Regions from separate parts of the Homo sapiens genome. Here region 1 is linked to region 2. The links are contacts of gene promoters, found by promoter capture Hi-C in blood cells and fetal thymus (Javierre and others, 2016). All regions are on one chromosome and are shown on one strand. The core of a region is centred on a gene start or on the middle of the fragment in contact, and the rest is flanking DNA. Distances in the headings are between cores, read along the strand shown.

Region 1 (3,442 bases), core at 314-2,813, 2.0 Mb after region 2:
TGCCTGGAGAGATGAATGTTGCAGTGTGACAGGAAGCTGTCTTGAGACACAAGGGCTACCTCATGAAAGGTATGTACTTTATCCAGGGAGAGCCTTAGCATACAACAGAACTCCTTAAGGTGTAGTCTCTGGATAAGCAGTGCCATCATCATCTGAGCATTTTTTGGTAATTCAGAGTCACCGGCTCCATCCTAGACTTACTGAATTAGAAATTCTGGGGTTGTGGACAGTAATTTGTATTTTCTAAAGTCCTTCACGATATATGGTGATTCTGATGCACATTAAAATTTGAGAACCACTGTCTTAGAGGAAAACAAACACTAGCAATGGGTAAGGAGCAAACTTCATGATAATGGTAAAGCATGTTTCTGGCTAGATATAGATAAATGGAAACAAACATACAGAGTCACCATTGAATCTGAAACCTAAAAAGTAGGAACAGAGCTTCCAGGATTCTGTATCTGAGATTCTTCTATATGAGGAGACAGGTTTGAAAACTACTATTAAATTGGTAACGGGGTCTTGTATTTAGCCTCTAAAGAGATAAATGTGCCTGGCTGTAGGGAGATGTTTTTTTTTTCTTTGAGGAATATCACATATTTGCAAGGGCAATAGTTAGGTTTCACACTTGCTAATATAAAAAGATTTCTAATTATAATTGCTCACAGTGTTACAGTTAATAAAGAACAGAATAGGTTAAAGAGAAGTCTGAGTTTTTTTAAGTGACTTTTCTAAACTATAAAGTACTAAGCCCACAAGCCCCATCTAGTGGCCTCTGTACCAAGAGTTCAGTAAACGTTTCCAAAGGGGCGCCCACCAACTTTAGAACCGCAGATAAAACTGAAAGCAATTCAGCTCTTAGATAGCTGGACTACAGCAGTAGGCATCACAGTGATGTCATCATAACCTCCTATTCAAATGTTCTTCAACTTTATTAGAACGCACTACTAAATTTTGACATAATCTAGAATCAGAAAAGAAGCAAACACTTATTGAATTCCAATTAGGTGTCAAGCCCTATTTAGATGCTTTTATATATGTATAGATACAAAATATGGTATAGATGTAAACATAACTATAGCTAGATATCGATAAACAGAAACAAACATACAGGGTCACCATTAAATCTGAAAACAGGTTAATAAATATATGTTTCACTAATATGCCAACATATAATAAAATAATGTTTCCAGAAATTCTAATGAAAAAATCAAAGTTCGGCCAGGCACAGTGGCTCACGCCTGTAATCCCAGCACTTTGGGTGGCCAAGGCGGGTTGATCACCTGAGGTCGGGAGTTTGAGAACAGCCTGACCAACATGGAGAAACCCCGTCTCTACTAAAACTACAAAAAAATTTAGCAGGACGTGGTGGCGCATCCCTGTAACCCCAGCTACTCGGGAGGCTGAGACAGGAGAATCGCTTGAACCCAGAAGGCAGAGGTTGCGATGAGCTGAGAAGGGGCCACTGCACTCCAGCCTGGGCTATAAGAGCGAAACTCTGTCTCAAAAATGAAGGTTCAAGGGAGGACTTTTCGAAGTCTCACAGTGTGTTATTTTAATGGTACTCTGCACTTTACGATAACATTTTAAATTCTATGACATCGCTATTTGTTTTTTCTTCTGCACACTATTTTAACCTTGAGGAATAGAACCGTATTTTTGACTAATCTGTTTTTTATTCCTGATGCCCAGCAAGGTGCTCAATAAAGTGATTAATACTTTTTGCTGTTTTTAAGTAAAGAAGTGTATAGGTGGATAAATGTATGAATGAAGTAATGAGTTATTTAAATTTTGTTTTTTTTGTTGTTGTTGTTGTTTTTGTTTTTTTTTTTTCTTTGAGTTGGAATCTCGCTCTGTCGCCTAGGCTGGAATGCAGTGGTGCGATCTCTGCGCACTGCAAGCCCCGCCTCCCGGGTTCACGCGGTTCTCCTGCCTCAGCCTCCCGAGTAGCTGGGAATACAGATGCCCGCCACCACACCCGGCCATTTTTTTTTGTTTTTTTTTTTGTGTTTTTAGTAGAGACAGGGTTTCACCGTGTTAGCCAGGATGGTCTCAATTTCCTGACCTCGTGATCCACCTGTCTCGGCCTCCCAAAGCGCTGGAATCACAGGTGTGAGCCACCACACCCGGCCCAAATTTTGGCCTTTCTATTTAATATATACATGAAATAAATATACATAGACACATATTTTTTTAATGACGTAAAGATGACTTTTATCAGCAAGCCTAAGAATATCCAAAGATGTCTTTTCTTTTCCTTTCTTTTTGACGGGGTCTCTCACTCAGTCACCCAGGCTAGAGTGCAGTGGTTTCACCTTGGCTCACTGAAACCTCTGTCTCCTGGACTCAAGTGATCCTCCCACCTCAACTTCCTCAGTAGCTGGGACTACAGGTGGGTGCCACCACACCCAACTAATTTTTGTATTTTTAGTAGACATGGGGTTTCACCACGTTGGCCAGGCTTGTCTCAAACTCCTGACCTCAAGTGATCCACCTTCCTCGGCTTCCCAAAGTGCTGGGAATTAGGTGTGTGCTACCAAGCCTGGCCTAGATGTCTTAATATTGCCTTCCACATTCTGCAAATATTTGTTGGCTCATAATAATAAAAGTATATTGATTACATCAAGGGTCTTAGTAAGGGGAGATGAGTGTTCATATAAATAATTATTATATACTATAGAATGTGAGACGTGGCACACAAGTGACACTAGGTTTTTGCTCATTGCATTTTAATGAAAGAAATGGTTTTCTGTTAGAGGTACTAAAGAACACTTTATTAAACCAACTCCTAAAAAATTAGCAAAATTTGAATAAGTAATTTTGATAGAAAGTATTTCATTAAGAGGAAGAACAAAAGGAAAGGGTTTGTCCAGGCAGGTGCCAGACTCCCCACTGAGTGTCCTCATGGCACATGAGGTACATGAAACAAAAGCACATGTACAAAAGCAATATGGCAGTAAAATCTGAAAGTTTAATGGGGTCAGAGCAGCAGAGATATCAGGGTCTTCACATACCACAGTCAACATGAAGGACTTCATTTCCTAAAAACCCAGAATCGACACACCTAAGCGGAAAAGCATCAGGCTAAATGAAAGGTGGCCAGGAAAACAAATTTAATGACCTAGGTGAGAATGGCCGATCTCTGTTTTTAATGTGGGTAATCCCACTTTGAAAAAAAAATCCATTAATGACTGAGTCAAATGGGAGTTTAGTTGCACTCACACTCAGTTCATTGATCACAGCATATAGACAACAAAGGATTTCCCCTTTGGACTGGTCTTACAGATTGATTGAATCTATAAGCAAAAATTACTTTAACCAAAAAAAGCTTTGGTGGTGATACAGATAACATGTAATAAGACTTAAGAGTTGCTCGTTTGACTGTTGCAACGTTTCTTATATTGTTAACAGGTATAGTCAAATTAAAATAATTGCCTAAATT
Region 2 (3,412 bases), core at 8-2,507:
GAGAGAAAGAATCTGTTCAGCACAATTAAACCACCTACACACAGACTTACCAAGCAGAAAACAAAGAATAAGGAAGAAAACATCCGCCACCACCTGAGAAATTGAGTAAGCAGTTTCCTGAATTTCTACCCGTTTTTCAGGGATAATGTCTCTTGAGGAAGCCACAGGTTAGAGCTTCTGGGTGATATAAGGTGAAGCCTTAGCAACACATATTAGGAATCCCTATAACAACAATGGGGAAAGGAAATGGTGGGGACGCTTATTATTCAGTGGCAAACTGGGGCTGCTTCTCCACAGCACTAGAAGAGAATAAAGCAACTATACGATTGAGGGGAGAGAGGATGGATTTGGAGTCAGACAGACTCCTTTGACGACTGACCAGATTGTGAGACTTTGAGGAAAGCTCTTCAGCAGCTTGAGTCTCAGTCTCTCTTTCTTTAGTATGAAGGAGCTCTGATAACAAATCGGTCACCAGCTATGGGATGGGGTGTGGTGCAAGTGCCTCTCCAGATACAGAGGTCCCTAAAGAAGGGGACAGAGGTGAGCAGCCAATCCTCAGAACAGCTGGAGGGTGGGGGATGGATATAGTCCCACAAAGGGATCTGGTGACACCTCACGGCATCCACCATGGCTCCCGTCTCCTTCCAAATCTGAATGATAAAACCTTATAGAATGCAGTGCTAGGTTCTTTGTAACTGAAATGATTTCACTTTCTTTTTTTCTTTATTCAACTTTAGTTCAAAGAAGTGACCACTCACATCACAGAACTCTCTGAGGCATGCTGGGCTAATTGACTCTATTGAGATATCCTTTGTTATGATAAAAATCTTCTATTCCCCTATACAGATGGTACCAGCCAAGAGGAAAGTCACTCGTGCCTGTGGTCAAGCTTCAGGCAATCCCAGTGACCTTGTGCTGCCTTAACTCACCCCTGTCTCCTGGGAAGAGGTGCAGAAGGGGAAAGTGCTTGGGCCTTCCTCTCAGTGACACCACTCCCCTCTTTGTGTCACTGCCTTGCTTTTGGGCTCAGCGTCATTAAAGCACTGCTGCACCTTAGTGCACACACTCCTTTCTAGGTCACTGAGACATGAAGTGAGTATCATTTGTAATATTCATACTTTTCTCTGTGAACTGGCAGGGGGATGGAGAAGGGCAAGAAAGTGGGAGCAGTGTCTGCTGGGAGGGTGGAGAATTAATTTGCATTAATTTCTCACCCTGTTAACTGGTGTGTCACTTCTCTACTCACACAGCCTCCAGTGTGGATTTAGCAATTACTTAGCTCAGCAGAGATAATGTACCCCATAAAATGGCAGAGACACTGGCCAGGGCTGGGCCCAGGAATTCAGTATGGATAATATTCTAATTCTGTATGACAAGGTAAGGCACAAACAAGTTAGCCATGTTTTTCTCTCAAAACTATATATATCTTACTAGGTATATCACAGTGTATTATATAGACATACCTATGTATGTTTATATATTTCCATAAAGTTTTCTTATCTTATTTTTGGTCTTTTCCTTTCCACTGGACTCTAAGCCTCATGAGGGTAAAGGTTTTGCCTATTTGTTCACTGTTGTAACTCCAGCACCTAGAACAATGTTTGCCCGATAGTGGACACTCTATAAGTATTTGTTGAATACCTAAATCCATATTAAGATCAACTCTTATGTTTGAATTAGTCTAGAAATTTGGGGGATGTTGGATTATATGTTCCATTTTTAAAACAAGATGTTTATAATCAAGTGACACGATTTTAAAAGAACATCATTTTAGTTGAGGTGCCAGTAAAATTCGTGAATGCTTTATGCTAAAAAAATATTGGGTTACGTGGCCTCTTACCTTCTGACTCATCGTTCTGCTTTCTTTTTCTTAGCTTTACCATAAATTTGAATCTGTAATTTCTGCTTTGATCAATTTGATGTATAAGGAGTGGAGCCAGTCAAATTTGGAAATAAAATTTCGAGGTTAGAATTCCAATTATGCCGGTGATTCACTGCATAAAACATACGAGCCTCAGTTTCCTGTAAGTGTTCATTTTGCTCCAAGCCTTCTTTTGAGGGAGGATACACACGTTGCCCAAGGCACCAAGAATAAAAACTTTCTTCCTGGGCTCTTTCCCTGTCATCAGTTTTCATCTGAAATAAAAGGAGATTGACTCCAGGATCTTCCAAGGCTGCTATTCCAAGAGCAGGTTCATAAAGGTGATTGTCAAGCTCCAGTGCAAATGCTAATAATCTGGAATTTTCCTTCAAACCATCTGCCTATGCAAAATACAACTGGGTCACACTGGAAAGGAGAGAGAGAGCTCTGATTCATATGAGAAATCAAGAATCGAACCTTCGTAAGTTCCATACTACAGAAACATAGCTAAGCATGCTCATTTTCTATTGGGATTCTGGCCTGCTATTTGAGTGTATGCAGAGGGCAGTATCCTAACTCTGGTATAATTCTACTAGTAGCTTGGTCTTCCAAAGCTTGCTCAAAGAAGATAGCATATTTAATCTACTAAATTATGTTTTAATCAAGATAGAACTCTATAAAAATAATTCTGCATGCATAAATATAGCCAACTCGTCATTTTTTTCTTTAAAGTGCCTGTGAGAATGTCCATGTCATTTTGACCACTTGAGGCTGGTAGGCTACTCTTTAATCCCCCACCAACATCGTAGCCAAGGGTTGAATTTTATGGTTTCAAAGAATCTGTTGCGGTGACCCTAAACCTTCTTATGTTATTTGTAAAATTGAGCAACCCATTAAATATCAATTTAGAAAAAAAATTAAGTACTTTGGAAAGACTGGGTGAAGTAGAATGGTTGAAAAATCTTGGTAAAGGTAAGACAATGATACGAAATTTAAAGAAGGAGGAAAATGGGACTCTGCTCTTGTTGGCTTGCAAGCATCTTTAAGTTCTTTTAGTTTTTCAAAAGCTAAAGGCAGAAATTATAGTTACTGCTTTGTGTTTTGTGCAAGAAAAATCATGCCGAAATCCAACTGGTAAACTCCTATTCCAATAATATGACCTCATATTAAAAGATTGCTGAGTAAATATGCATTGTGTTTCTCTATTTATATTTGTGAGTTAGACTACCCTTTACCTCTTTTCAGTTTTCTTCTGGAAAGGTCTATGTGAACATATATCTTAAAATAATTTCTCAGTAAGAAAACCTTTTTTTTTTTTTTTTTTTTGGAGACGGAGTCTCGCTCTGTCACCTAGGCTGGAGTGCAGTGGTGCGATCTCGGCTCACTGTAAGCTCCGCCTCCCGGGTTCATGCCATTCTCCTGCCTCAGCCTCCTGGGTAGCTGGGACTACAGGGGCCTGCCACCAAGCCCGGCTAATTTTTTGTATTTTTAGTAGAGACAGGGTTTCACCGTGTTAGCCAGGATGGTCTTGATCTCCTGACCTCGTGATCC

Evidence for each region. Contacts are between HindIII fragments. The CHiCAGO score rates a contact against its expected background, and 5 or more counts as called.
Region 1: a contact is called between a fragment that was not itself captured here and the fragment with the promoter of GPC6-AS1 in region 2, in 2 of 17 cell types (M2 macrophages and M0 macrophages). The highest score is 6.5, in M2 macrophages.

The regions. Positions count from the first base shown.
Region 1 is chr13:92,172,930-92,176,371 of GRCh38, reverse strand. The region is part of intron 7 of GPC5 (glypican 5); the gene reads right to left. Among named protein-coding and RNA genes, the nearest start is that of GPC5-AS2, 180 kb to the left of the region's middle. The HindIII fragment of the contact is 3,535 bases long and covers 1-3,330 here.
Region 2 is chr13:94,185,836-94,189,247 of GRCh38, reverse strand. It overlaps GPC6-AS1 (GPC6 antisense RNA 1), which reads left to right and starts at 1,257. Exons shown (of 4, transcript NR_046535.1): 1 at 1,257-1,377; 2 at 1,875-2,024; 3 at 2,130-2,342. The region is part of intron 4 of GPC6 (glypican 6); the gene reads right to left. RefSeq lists an enhancer at 186-1,101. The HindIII fragment of the contact is 1,586 bases long and covers 892-2,477 here.